Linked DNA regions of Homo sapiens: regions 1, 2 and 3 are each linked to region 4. Evidence: promoter capture Hi-C in 16 types of primary human blood cells and fetal thymus (Javierre and others, 2016). All regions are on one chromosome and are shown on one strand. The core of a region is centred on a gene start or on the middle of the fragment in contact, and the rest is flanking DNA. Distances in the headings are between cores, read along the strand shown. Region 1 overlaps STK32B (serine/threonine kinase 32B). Region 2 overlaps STK32B (serine/threonine kinase 32B). Region 3 overlaps STK32B (serine/threonine kinase 32B). Region 4 holds the start of STK32B (serine/threonine kinase 32B).

Region 1 (3,111 bases), core at 295-2,794, 340 kb after region 4:
GATTTGTGCTTTGTAAGGATATTTGAATCATATTAAAAAAGAAATGCAATCTTGCATGTGGATGGTGTAATAAATGATAAGTTTCCTGAAATGTGAATAACATAATTTTTTAAAATCAAATCAGAACAAGCATGATGGCTCACGCCTGTAATCCCAACACTTTGGGAGGCCGAGGCGGGTGGATCACTTGAGGTCAGGAGTTTGAGACCAGCATGGTGATACGCCGTCTCTACTAAAAATACAAAATTTAGTCAGGTGTGGTGGTGCACGCCTGTAATCCCAGCTACTTGGGAAGCTGAGGCATGAGAATCACTGGAATTCAGGAGGCGGAGGTTGTAATGAGCCAAGATCATGCCATTGCAGTCCAGCCTGGGTGACAAAGCGAGACTCCATCTCAAAAAATAATAATTAATTAATTTAAAAATCAAATCAGATCTTTATTATAAGCATGTTCCTCAGATTATTACTGCCTACTTTAGAATTCTGGGAACCCCAATTTATTCCTAATTTATTTTTTTTCATTTCCCCACCCACAGAGAGAGAACATTGATCTAGAGACCAACATGAGAGTAGGTCTTACCTCTACCGGTGTTTGACCTTTGACAAATCACAAGGAGGAACCAGACATACCACTGACCCTCTGTAAATAGTTCTCTCTTTATCAGTAAAATAGGAGTAGCAATACCTATCTCTAAGAGTTGTGTCAAGATAATGACATATGGAGTGCCTCCCCAGCACCTGGTAACAAATAGCCACACTGCACATGGCTAAATCCACATAACACACTTCAGATTGTCCCTGACACACAACCAACACTCAATAAAGTTTAGCTGTTAATACTGTCAGGACTGCTATTAACACTGAAGCACCGTGTTGGGGGCTGCTGTTTGTACTTGGTCCCCATGTCCACAGGAAGCAGGAGACAGAAGGGAGAAAGAAGTAATGTTTAATGAGTAGAGATGATGTGTTGTCATTTCTTAATTGTCACTCAGTTTCTAGGAGAATGATCCATGCCAATACAATGACAGATTCTAAGCATCCTATCCCACATCAGCTTGCTGATGGATGGGTGCCAAGTCCCATTCAAGTTGGCTAAGGCATAGGTCAACAGCCAAGGTGAAGCCCTCCCATTCCTCCCCAACCCCCAGTAAATGCCTTTGGTCATCCTTCCCTAGTGCCTGTTCTGTTGGCTCAACCTCCTACTGAAATGTCTTTGCCCCACTCTGTTATTATTCATAATCGCACCTTTCCATGTGCCTGGCCCTGTGCTGGTTGCTGTCATAAGAACCATCTCATCCAATCCTCACTGTAGCCATTAGAGAGGGCATTATTATCCAACTTATAAGTGAGGAAGCTAATGTTCATTGTCTTAGTCCATTCTCATGTTGTTATAAAGAAATACTGGAGACTGTTGTTTATAAAGAAAAGAGGTTTCATTGACTCATGGTTCTGAAGGCAGTACAGGAAGCATGGCAGCATCTGCTTGGATTCTTGGGAGGCCTCAGGAAACTTACGATGGTGGCAAAAGGCAAAGTGGAAGCAGGCATGTCTTACATGGCGGGAGCAGGAGCAAGAGAGACAGTGGGGGAGGTGCTACACACTTTTAAACAACCACAACTCACTATCATGACAATAGCACCAAGAGGATGGTGCTAAACCATTCAGGAGAAACCACCCCCATGATCCAATCACCTCCTACCAGGCCCCTCCTCCAACACTGGGGATTACAATTCGACATGAGATTTGGGCGGGAACACAGATCCAAACCCTATCACTCACCCAGGGCAGCGTTCTCCTGTCTGCATGGCCAGCAAGAGGCAGACTCAGGACTGGATCTCAAGTCTCTCTTCTCTGTCCTTTGCTACCTCCCTCTCCCTCTTGCATGCATATGGATAGCATATTCCCTTCACTAGTTGTAAAATAGCCGCAGATTTTTACTTCGCTTAGTCTAGCTTTCCCCTCCAGGTTTTTGTATTTCTCTTTACTGCTGCATAAGATTGCCAGCATAGAATATTGAGAAGCCCCCTGCCAAAAGACACATGCAGAAACATCCTGGTGGCCCTGCTTTGCAGTCTGTGCATGGGTACCTCTGGATCAGAGCCATTTCTATGCTGTTTTTTAAAATATCCCAGCTGACATTTTATGCTTTGTTTTATTTGAGGGCTGGGGAATAATTCAAGAGCAGCACCGGGTTTTATAGCCCTGCATGCGTACTTTCCATCAAAGTGTCATTTTGCCCAACTCTGAAATTATGGGTCTGTCCTCAGGAAACATCGTCACCGCCTTCCCATCCATGCAATGCTCCTGATGCCCTTTCTGAACGTTCAAACCCGTTTTCAACAGGATGACGCGCTGGAGCTGAGATACGATCAATGTGAAAAATAGAGCTGGAGGAAACGGTCCTGAAACTGGCTAAACTAAAGGCTCTGCTAAGATGCTTTACCCATAAAATGCTATTCTTATTAAATCCCAAGTGATTCAGATTCTCCATCTCCTCCACGCTGCTTTGCAGGCATCTGCCCAGCAGTCTCCTGTGAAAGAGACCTAATTTGCTAAAGGCTCAAGAATCTGCCAGTCTGCCTCTGAGTTCTCCCTAGCTCCTTTTGAAAGAGCAATGACAGTCCCATCACTGTGACTTATTTCAGCACTTCTTCCACACTGCACTGGGACTGTGTGAAGTGCTGAACAAATGTCATCTCATTGTACACTCAGCAACAGTGAGATGGCTGTTGCTGTTCCCATTTCCCAAATGAGGAAAACAAGGCTGAGAGTAAGTGGCCCAAGATCATATAGCTAGAGAATTAGTTTTCTATTGTTGTGAAACTAATTACCACTAACTTAACAACTTAAAATAACTCACATTTATTTTCCCTCCATTTCCGTGGCCCAGGAGTCCAGGTGGGCTTAACTGGATCATCTGCATAGGATCTCACAAAACTACAATCCACATGCCCACCGGGCTGCACTCCTTTCTGGAACATGGGGTGGGGTTCTCTCCCAGGCTCTTGTGGTTGTTGGCAGATTTCAGCTCTTATGGCTGCAGGACTGGGGTCCCGTTTTCTTGCTACATATAGGCCAGCGGTCACTCTTCCTCCCAGGGACAGCTACATT
Region 2 (3,410 bases), core at 261-2,760, 410 kb after region 4:
CACACTGATGCACACTCACACACTCAGTCACACTCACACATAGACACACATGCACACTCATTCCCCCACACACATATGCACACGTGCCCCCACACACAGTCTCACACACATACCTACTCATCCTACACAAGCACATGCATTCACATATATACTCACCCACACACACCTTCACACACATGCACACTCCCATACAAACACACACACACACAAGCAAGCCCCCTACCACATGCCCACCTACAGGGCAGTGAGCCTCAGCCCCACCCACAGGTCTGTAGCCTCCCCTCTGGCTGTGCTGTCTCCTAGCTGGAACCTTGCACAGGCCGCTTTCTCTTCCGGGGATCCCTTCCTCTCCTTGTCCACAAGGCAGTCTCCTACCCCTCCTTCAAGACAGCATAAAGCAAGGACTGGCCCAGTTGCCAGTCTCAGCAGAAGCCTTCTGTATTAGGCCATTCTTGCATTGCTATAAAGGAATAACTGAGGTTGGGTAATTTATAAAGAAGAGAGGCTTAACTGGCTTACAGTCCTGCGGGCTGTACAGGAAGCATGGCACCTGCATCAGCTTTGCTTCTGGGGAGGCATCAGGGAGCTTCCAGTCAGGGCGGAAGGTGAAGCAAGAGCAGGTGTGTCACGTGGCAGGAGCAGGAACAGCAGTGGGGGTGGGGGGTGCCACACGCTCTTAAACTACCAGATGTCTCACCAGAGCTCACTCACTATTGTGAGGACAGCACCTAGCCATGAGGGATCCGTCCCCATGAACCAAACACCTCCCACCAGGCCCCACCTCCCAAACTGGGAATTACATCTCAACATGAGATTTGCAGGGGACAGGCAAGTTATGTCACCTTCTGAAGGAAAGACAAGCCCAAGCTTGGCCTCCTCTGGGACATTCCCAGCCAGCGCCACCACCTCCCTGCACAGAGCAGGCCTCAGCCTCTCCTGCAACCCTCTGCACGAGTGCCTAGGGATACATCAGTGGTGAGAACACTCTGTCGCAGTGCGCCTGCCATCCTGCTGGGAGCTTCGGAGGGTGAGGGCCGCGAAGTGTTGGCTGACCTCTCTCTGCCTGAGCCAGACCCCAGAACAATGGGTGACAATAGAAGGCACTAGAAGGCCTAAGTGTGTGCTTGTCACGTGAATGAACGAATGATGATGGCCAACAGGTCTGAGCGTGTTCTGTGTACCTGCCATTGTTCTGATAACTTTGTGTGACTTATCTTGTGTCAGCTTCACACCAGTCCTGGGCAGTGGATCCTGTTAATGGCATTCTCAGCAAGGTTAGGCAACTTGCCCAAGATTTCTCAGTGAGAAATTGAGAGTTTGAATTCAGATGGTCTAGATCCAGAACCTGCATTTTTATGAATGAATGAATGAGTGGCAGGCAAAACAAGGCAGAGCCTGCATATTTATGAACGAATGAATGAATGAATGAGTGGCAGGTAAAACAGGTCTGGAGAGACCTGGGCCTGAGATTCAACTTGCTCCTTAGGGGAGGGCAACTTCTGGAGGACAGATGTGTGAAATCAGGGAAGGTGATCATAGTTGAGTTCCAGGAGTTGGTGATGATGGACAAAGCCCAGTGCCAGGCAGGGGAAGGGAGAGGCCATTGGTACCGCGAACCCAAGGAGGGTCCACAGCAGGTCACAACAGAAAGGATGAGGCCCAGCCTCTAGGACTGAGAAAGCAAGGGGCAAAGGACATAGGACTCCACTCCATTAGCCCACGAATGACACAGTGACAACAACTCGGTAACATTTATTGGGCAACTCCTGTGTGGCAGGGGCTGGGCTAGGAGCTTTTCTTGCATTTTCTCATGTCAGCCTCACAGACTTGCACTAGTGCCCTCATCTTACAATATGGAAACTGAGGCCCATAGAGGTTTAGGGAGTTCCTGGGAGTTAGGGAAGCCAGGACTTTCCCCAGTTCTGTCTGCAAAGTCCCTGTCTTCCTCCTGCCCCCAGGTCATGGCAAAGGCACTGGCTGGCATCAAGCAGATTAGGGAGCATGGCCAAGACAAGTTCAGCTTTAGGTAGCAAGACCCTTTCTTGTAAATTGGGTTCAAGGCCAGGAATCCTAGGGAGGTGAGGGGACAGCAGAGAAGCAGAGGGAATGGCCAGTTGTGGAACGGCCACCATGGTCAGGCATCCACCGTTCTGGAAGCTTGGCAAACTCTTATCATCTGATCCCTCAACAAACTCTGAGCCTGCCATATTTCACAATGATGAGGAAACTGAGGCAGAGAGAGGTTATGAATCTCCCTCAGCATCACGCAGGTAAAAGGAGAGGACACAGGGCCCAGTGGCAAGGCTGGCTGACCTCAAGGCTGTGCCTCGCCTCTCTCCTTCTTGGCCAGGTCACAGCAGGCCCAGGTCCTAACAGGCCCAGGGACCACCACTGTAGGGAGGACTTGCTTCATGCCTGGCCCTACTTGGAGTACTTTATAGATATTATATTATTAATTCCCTATATGGGAATTATTGTTACCCAAACTTTACAGCTAATGAACTGAGTCCCAAGGAAGTCATGAAACTTACAAGATCAGGAAGTAGCAGAACTGGGATTTTTCCCCTGTGCGCGCCAAAGCTGCTGTTATAGCCACCGGGCTGCATTGCCTTTGGGGACCGGCACCTGGGGCCATCATCTGGGCTACAGCTGAGGAATGAAAGTGGCTACCAGGAATCTGGGTCCAAGGCCCAGAAGTCAGGGAGACCTAAATTCCTCCTGACCACAGCGGGAGGAGCCCCTGGCCAGGAGCAGGGCCAGGCCGGAGGGTCAGCTGACTCTAGCTGCCAGGGGGCGGGAGGCGGGGGTACGGAGCAGGGAACCAGGGCAGGAAGTTGGGCAGATTTTGAGCTGAAATTGTATTCTTAAGTTATTTAGAATGATTTTTATAAAAAAGATAGTAATGACAGGACAATGTGCATAGGATAAAATAATAAGTGAAAAAATCAGATTCGAAAACTGAACTCAGCCTAGTATGAAAAACAGGCATAGAAAGGGGCCTAAGGAAATACCTGGATGTTAACAGGAGTGCGGTTGCCCCAGGGGGACTATGTGTAAATATATGATGTGTACAGTGAGAACGTGTTGCTTTTTATCATCAGAAAACAGAAACAAAGGTAACCCGTGTATCCAACAAGAGTAAGTTCATCATTACTTGTTGAATGAATGAATGGTTGAATTAATGAAAAGAAAATTCAGTGATGGGTGGAACGCAGACAGACCATGTTTTCTTTTCTACTCCCCTTTAGAAAGGGAGGTTGAACTGCGATCCCACATTTGAGCTTGAAGAGATGATTCTAGAATCCAAGCCACTTCACAAAAAGAAGAAGCGATTGGCAAAGAACAGATCCAGGGATGGCACAAAGGACAGCTGCCCGCTGGTGAGTGCTTCGTGGGAGCCGTTCCGGGAG
Region 3 (3,314 bases), core at 259-2,758, 320 kb after region 4:
AGGAGACATCAAGGTAGGGAGCTTCTTGATAAACTGACTTAACAGGATTCCTGCTAAAGACAGGCCAAGGGCTTATACATCAAAGGTAGGGGAGGAGGAATTGGATCAGATATGGAGGGTGATCCAATATCAAAGGTGAGGGTTTCTTGCTAAAGTGACTTAGCAGGAATCTTGCTAAAACTGGATTTAGCAAACCAAAGATGGGTCTCGAGGATGAGGCCTAGGAGAAAAGCAGGTTCAGGGGAGCCTGTCTAAAGTTTGGTTAAGGAGAGAGTCTTTGTCATTCCTGAGCCTGATTCTTGTCTTATTTCCCTCGCGCGGTTGTTGTAAAGACAACACCAGGCCCAGCCGGCTGAAGGGGAGGTGGGAGGCTGGAATCCAGCCCTGGCTGTGCTCTGCGTGCCAAGCAAACATTTGCCAAAGGGGCCAGATCATAAATATTTCAGGCTTGCATACCACAGGGTCTTTGTCAAAATTACTCAACCCTGCCACTGCAACAAGAAAGCAGCCGTAATAAACAGTGCATCTGTGAACAGCATTGACTGAGTTCCAATGAAACTGTATTTCCAAAATCAAGACTTGAGCCCCAGGACAGAGTTTGCTGACCTCTCTCTCTGGAGGGAGTCTTTTCCCAATTCAGACAAAAGTACTGTGTAAGCTCATTTCCCAGGTGGTGGCAATACCCCATGGGGCTGAAAGCACCTCCATGCAGAACACACACAGGTGACTGCAGAGATGTCCTTCTGGGCACAAGCCACTTCTCTCCAGCCCTGGAAACAGGCCAGGATGTGGGCTGCATTGGTCACACTCATGCCTGCAGGCAGGCGAGCAGATACAGCAGATGGCACAGAAGGGACAAACACTATAACCTTAGCCAACAGCTGAGCAACCCCTTGGAGGAGAATGCATACCTGCAGTCAGAAGGGCTTACATGTGAGAAAGTAAAGTCAAAGGATTGGGGACCGTGGCAAGCAGCAACAGAACAGTAAATGTGGAAACAGAGAGTCAGGTGCAGATTCTGATGAATGTCTGACCCATGAGTGAAGGAGGAGCAGCACCTTTTGAATCATGCTGTAGCTCTGGGTACTTCCCTGGGTCCTGCCATCTCTGTCCAGCCGGGCTGTAGGTGGACTTGGTTAATTTACCGAAAATGCCATGATGGTGCTGTCATTCTTTTTGCAGGAGCCCTGAAGCTTCAGGTAGCCCAGGACTCCCGACCTCTCACTCCCTTAGCACACATTCACATTCGAGACACGGCCATTACTATTCAATATTACCATCCTATTAAGGAAAGTGTCAGTAATCTAATATTTCATCATACACTAGACCAAAAATTTCAGAATGTTTAAAAAGGAGAAGATGACAACTCTGTTCCCATCTTTTCTGGGTCAGTGGACTATTTAATAAAATTTCAGCTCTACCTGTATCATTACAGTAATAACTGCATCTACACACTTCGAGCTCGTGGCCTCAGCAGGAGAAAGTTGGGGGGGGGGGCGGTTATTTCAGACTAATAGGTCCAGCTCTTCCTTTCTGCCACGCATCAGTATTTCTTTCTTGAATTCAGATTGATTTTTGCAAGGGATTTTATGCTATGGAGCATGAAAGCCTAGTTTTCTGCCATGAGCCCAATAAAGTTTATGATTGGGTTCAGCATGGTTGAGCCTCTTCAGGACATAAGACCCATGACCCAAATGAGGAATCCTCATTTCATTCATTTGAAGTCAATAAAGATTGAATATTGAATATATGTCAAGTATTTCATTCACAGCAGTTGGGAGTCGTGATTGGAATTGCTGTGGGGTCAGCCTATAAAGCCAGAAAAAGCTTTGTGGAGGGTGGGGAGGGGAGAAAGCTTTGAAACTGTGATTTGGCCTCAAGTGGGACTCAAACAGAAAACAGAGTAAGGAAAGGATGCTCTGGTTTCTAGGCACTCATGCATATAGCTCGCCCAGCTATATTAGGATTCTCCAGAGAAACAGAACCAATAGGATATGTGTGTAGGAAGGAAGGTTTACCATGAGGAATTGGCTCAGATGACTGTGGAGACTGGCAAGTCCCAAGATCTGCAGTGGGAGCCAGCAGGTTCAACACCCATGTGATCCAATGGTGTAGTTTCTGCCTGAAAGCTGGCAGATTCAAGACCCAAGAGAAACCCCCATGTTTCAGTTTGAGTCCGAAGGTAGTAAAAAGCCAATATCTCAGTTTTAAGGTAGTCAGGCAGAAAAAACTCCCTTTTTCTCAGGGGAAGATCAGACCTTTTGTTCTAGCCAGGCCTTCAACTGATCGGACAAGGCCCACCCCCTCTTAAGGGAGGCAACCTGCTTTACCCAGTCCACCAATTTAATTATGAATCTCATCCAAACACCTGGGAATCACTGGGAGCAGACACCTGCATAGCAGCCCACACACCTTTGTGTCCCCCTTATCTCCCATCTGCAGGGCCCCTAGGAAATATCTCAGGAATCCGCCTCTCTCCCCATCCCACCGATTTTGTCCCAGATCTTGACTGATGCAGTCTTCTCTGCCATTCTCACTCCACACAGCAAAGTGCTGTCTCTGCAATCTGAGTATGTGGGTCCCCCATGATCATGCTTCCAAGATGGTTTCAACCTTTGTGATTTCTGCTCTATCTACACACCAACAAATACTACCTACTGTAATTGAATTGTGTTCCCCCAAAAGTAATGTCCACCTGAGACCTCAAAAATGCAACCTTAATTGAAAATAGGATCTTTGCCGGTAAGAATAAGGATGAGGTCATACTGGATTACAGTGAGCCCTAAATCCAATGACTGATGTCTTTATAAGAGACAGAAGAGGAAATGCAGAGGGGAGAAGGCCATGTGAAATGGAAGCAGGGAAGTGAGTGATGCAGCCACAAGCCAAGGAATGCCAGGAACCACCAGAAACTGAAAGAGGCAAGAAGAGTTCTCCCTTAGAACTTCAGGGTAACACCTTGACTTTGAAATTCTGGCCTTTGTATTTTGAAGCCACTCAGTCATGGTCATTTGTTACAGAAGCCCTAGGAAACTAATTCTCTATCTTCATGATTTTTGCTTTATCTGGAAATCATCTGTACTACTATTTGAATAACATTCTATAATAGACAAAATGCTTTTTGCTAAGATAAGTGTGTTTCAAAAAGACGCTTCACATCAGTCCCTTAAAGAGGAAAGAGTTTGTCATAAATATAAGGACTAATAATAGAATGGATTGATGTCTTAGCCCATTCAGGCTGCTGTGACACAATACCTTAGACTGGTTCATTGATAAACAACAGAAATCTATTTCTCACAACTCTGGAGGGAGGA
Region 4 (3,141 bases), core at 149-2,648:
CCCTATGCTTCTTGAGCTAGGGGCCAGCTCTGTGTTCAGGGCATTGCCTGCTGCACACTGGCTACTCAGTGTATGCTTGTTGGTGGAATGAAAGGCAAGAAATATTTATTCATCATTTATTATATGCCGGGCACTGTTGCCTGCTTTTATAAATATTACCTGATATAATTCTCACAGACAACCCAAGGAGTTAATATCAATCAGCCCACTTTGCAGATAAGAACTCCAAAGTGGGACACATTGCCAGTAAATGGTAGAGCCAGCTCTGGGTCATGGTGGGTGGGCCTGCCTCAGACCTTCTCAGTTCTTTCCCACTGCCTTTAAGAGATTTTTTGTTTTGTTTTGTTTTGTTTTGTTTCTGTATGAGTCTCCCCGGCTTCCCTCACCCTTCTCCCAAGAAAAAGAAAGAAGGGGAGAGAACTGGAGAGAGAGACCAGGTAGGGGACGGGGACTGGGGGACGAGATAGGATGGAGAGAGTCACAAAGAACCCCTGCTTTCTATCAAAGCACGGACAGTGGTTCCAGGCGCCCAGCAGATGGCAGGATGTAGCCAAAGATTCCCTGCAGTCCCGGAGAGCTGGGCCCGCAGGACTGCAAGGCAGGGGGACCTGCCTGTCCCTCAGGGAGCGTCCTGGGAACCCGCGCTCGCCCCACACGTCTTGGGGCGCATCTGCCGCACCCCTTACTTAGGCACCCGCAACTGTGGCGCGTATCTCCCGATCCAGGCTCCCGCCGCAGGAGCCCAGGGACCCTCATGCTAGCCTCGCCCCTAAATCGGACGCCGATGCCGCCCAATTTTGGGGGAATCCCGAGACTCATGCCCAGCCATTCCCAGGGAGAATGGTTTGGGGCAAACTATGGCTGTCTGGGGCCTCAGTTTCCCCATGTACAATGAAGGGGTCAGATTAGTATCTAATCTTAAGGGGTCAGAAAGTAAACAGATACTTTCATTCATTAAACACTGAGAAAAACCTTAAGAGGAACAGCGTCGGTTGGAGAGCCAGCAGACACTCCACTGCCCATCCCAATATGAATGGGCAAATACAGGCTAGCGGGGAGTCCTGGGACTCCCTTCGCAGCCGGGGCCGACTAACCACAGACCTAAGAGCCCCTCTACCTCTAGACCTCCGTCTACTGCGCTCTAAAATATGAACGATGCTTTCTTACTGCTGGGTTGTCGGAGGCGGATGTGGGATGGTGCTAACAAAGCGCGTAGCCGAGGCCTGGCCATAGTGGGTGCTGACAAACCGCTTACTGCCTGCAGGGACCGAGCTCCCGGCCGAGGGAGGAGGGCCGAGCAGGGATTCAGATTCTTCCGGGCCGATCCCTTTCTCAGCTCCTTCCGCCCTGCCGCCGCCCACTGCGTGCTGCCTTCGTCCGTCCCCTCCTCCCCCGCTCCTTCCCCTCCTTCCCCTGCTCCCGCGCCGCCTCGCGTCTCCCGCCCGCTGTAGCCGGCGAGGAGCGCCGCACGTTGGCCCCGGCGCGAGGAGCTCCCGGGTTCCCGGGCGGGCACTGGAGTAAGGAGCTGCGAGCGCAGCCCGAGGCGGGGCACGGCGGAAGGCGCGGCGAGAGCGGGGTCCCTGCGAGCGCAGTCGGAAGGGCGTCCAGGAGAAGGGGGACGCCGTCCCCGCCCCTGCACGGTGCTCGGCCCCCTCGGGCTCCGCGCGCGGCTACAACCCGGACTGGGCGCGCCCCCGGCATCCCGCATCTCTGCGCGCGTCCCACATCCCGCATCCGGCATCCCAGCGGCCGGGCATGTAGCAGCGGCAGCAACGGCGGAATATGGGCGGGAACCACTCCCACAAGCCCCCCGTGTTTGACGAGAATGAGGAAGGTAAGAGAGCGAGAGGTGCGAATTCCCGCTTCGCGGGGCATCCCCTTCCTCCACCACCCTCGGCCGAGCCCTGCGGGGCACCGCATGCTGCCCGGCGCGGGGACCCAGGCATGGCCACTTCGCCCAGCGAATGCAGTGTGTGCCCGACCCGTGCCAGGCGCGGCGCTTCTGCTGAGGCAACTCCTAGGTACCCAGTGCCGTTTAGTAGTCGGGACGGTGCCTAGCGCGGGACTGGGGAGGCGGCTTCAGAGAGTTGAACCCGAAACCTGCACTTGGGGGTGTGGAAGGGAGGAGTTGACTTCGGAGGCCAGTCGGGATGGTTCTAGGCTCGGGCTCCCCAGGAAACCGAGGTTTCCTTGAGAGCCTGAGGCTGACGGAGGTGGCCTGGAAGGGCGGGTTGCACCGTGTGTCTGTGTGTGTGTGCGCGTGCCCACGACGCATTTGGTCTCGTGCAAGGGCCTGTTGGATGCAGCTCTCCTCAATCACCCAGGACAGAGGGAAACTTTTCTTTGCTAAACTCTGTGGTTCCTAGGAGGGCGTCCTGTTCTGGGCAGCCTCCCCCTGGCGCAGAAGTGGTGTAGGCTGTCCAACCGCATCTCAACTTCCTGGCTGGATCCTTGCGGTTCAGGTCGATAGAGCTCCCTATTTGGACTAGCAGAACCCTCTTTCCAGTGCAGCGTGTCCCTGGAAAACTTACTTCACCTCTCTGAAACATTAGTCCCTTCATCAATGAAATGTGAGTTATGATACCACTAGCTACTTTATAGGGTTGTTTGAAGCTTAACCACTAGTAATCCACGTGAAAAGTGCCTTATAAATGCAAGCAGTACCGAGCTGTGCCGTTTTTTATGTTAAGAGCCCTCTGCCTCTCAAAGCTGGTTTCCTACTGTGCTGACTCGCCAGTCTCCACTGTGCCCCAGGTAAGAGCTGAGACATACTGAGCACTTACTATGTTCCAGCCATGCTAGCACATAGTGTTCACTCCATCCTTTTCATGCCCCTTGAGGTGGCTACCTTAGAAAGGGGTCTGTCCTGGTTACTGCTGGTAAGAAGTAGAGCTGGGCTTGAGGCAGGACAGTCTGCTTTGAAAGCTGTGCCTGTCATCATTACCCAGGGCACTGGCTGTGTGCGTACATCATGGATGGCTTCTAGAACTCCCAAGGCTGTGAGTGCTACTCAGATGCCTGCCTGGACAGCCCTTCTCAAAAAGATAGATGAACACAGTCAAGGTTAAGTGAGCACCTGCTGTGTCAGGCCCACGAGAGCCTTCCTTAAAGGAGTTCCTAGTCTAATGGCCCTGAATGACC

Evidence for each region. Contacts are between HindIII fragments. The CHiCAGO score rates a contact against its expected background, and 5 or more counts as called.
Region 1: a fragment that was not itself captured here is called in contact with the fragment with the promoter of STK32B in region 4 in 1 of 17 cell types (megakaryocytes); the score reaches 6.0 in megakaryocytes.
Region 2: a fragment that was not itself captured here is called in contact with the fragment with the promoter of STK32B in region 4 in 3 of 17 cell types (M0 macrophages, M2 macrophages and M1 macrophages); the score reaches 5.9 in M0 macrophages.
Region 3: a contact is called between a fragment that was not itself captured here and the fragment with the promoter of STK32B in region 4, in 1 of 17 cell types (endothelial precursors). The highest score is 7.1, in endothelial precursors.

The regions. Positions count from the first base shown.
Region 1 is chr4:5,392,030-5,395,140 of GRCh38, forward strand. All of the region lies in intron 4 of STK32B (serine/threonine kinase 32B), which reads left to right. Among named protein-coding and RNA genes, the nearest start is that of LINC01587, 130 kb to the right of the region's middle. The HindIII fragment of the contact is 6,269 bases long and covers 1-3,111 here.
Region 2 is chr4:5,463,455-5,466,864 of GRCh38, forward strand. It overlaps STK32B (serine/threonine kinase 32B), which reads left to right. Exons shown (of 12, transcript NM_018401.3): 10 at 3,249-3,380. Among named protein-coding and RNA genes, the nearest start is that of LINC01587, 59 kb to the right of the region's middle. The HindIII fragment of the contact is 1,290 bases long and covers 866-2,155 here.
Region 3 is chr4:5,371,235-5,374,548 of GRCh38, forward strand. All of the region lies in intron 4 of STK32B (serine/threonine kinase 32B), which reads left to right. Among named protein-coding and RNA genes, the nearest start is that of LINC01587, 150 kb to the right of the region's middle. The HindIII fragment of the contact is 634 bases long and covers 1,192-1,825 here.
Region 4 is chr4:5,050,082-5,053,222 of GRCh38, forward strand. STK32B (serine/threonine kinase 32B) reads left to right here and starts at 1,399. Exons shown (of 12, transcript NM_018401.3): 1 at 1,399-1,834. The coding sequence starts at 1,783. RefSeq lists an enhancer at 2,101-2,639. The HindIII fragment of the contact is 3,285 bases long and covers 1-2,611 here.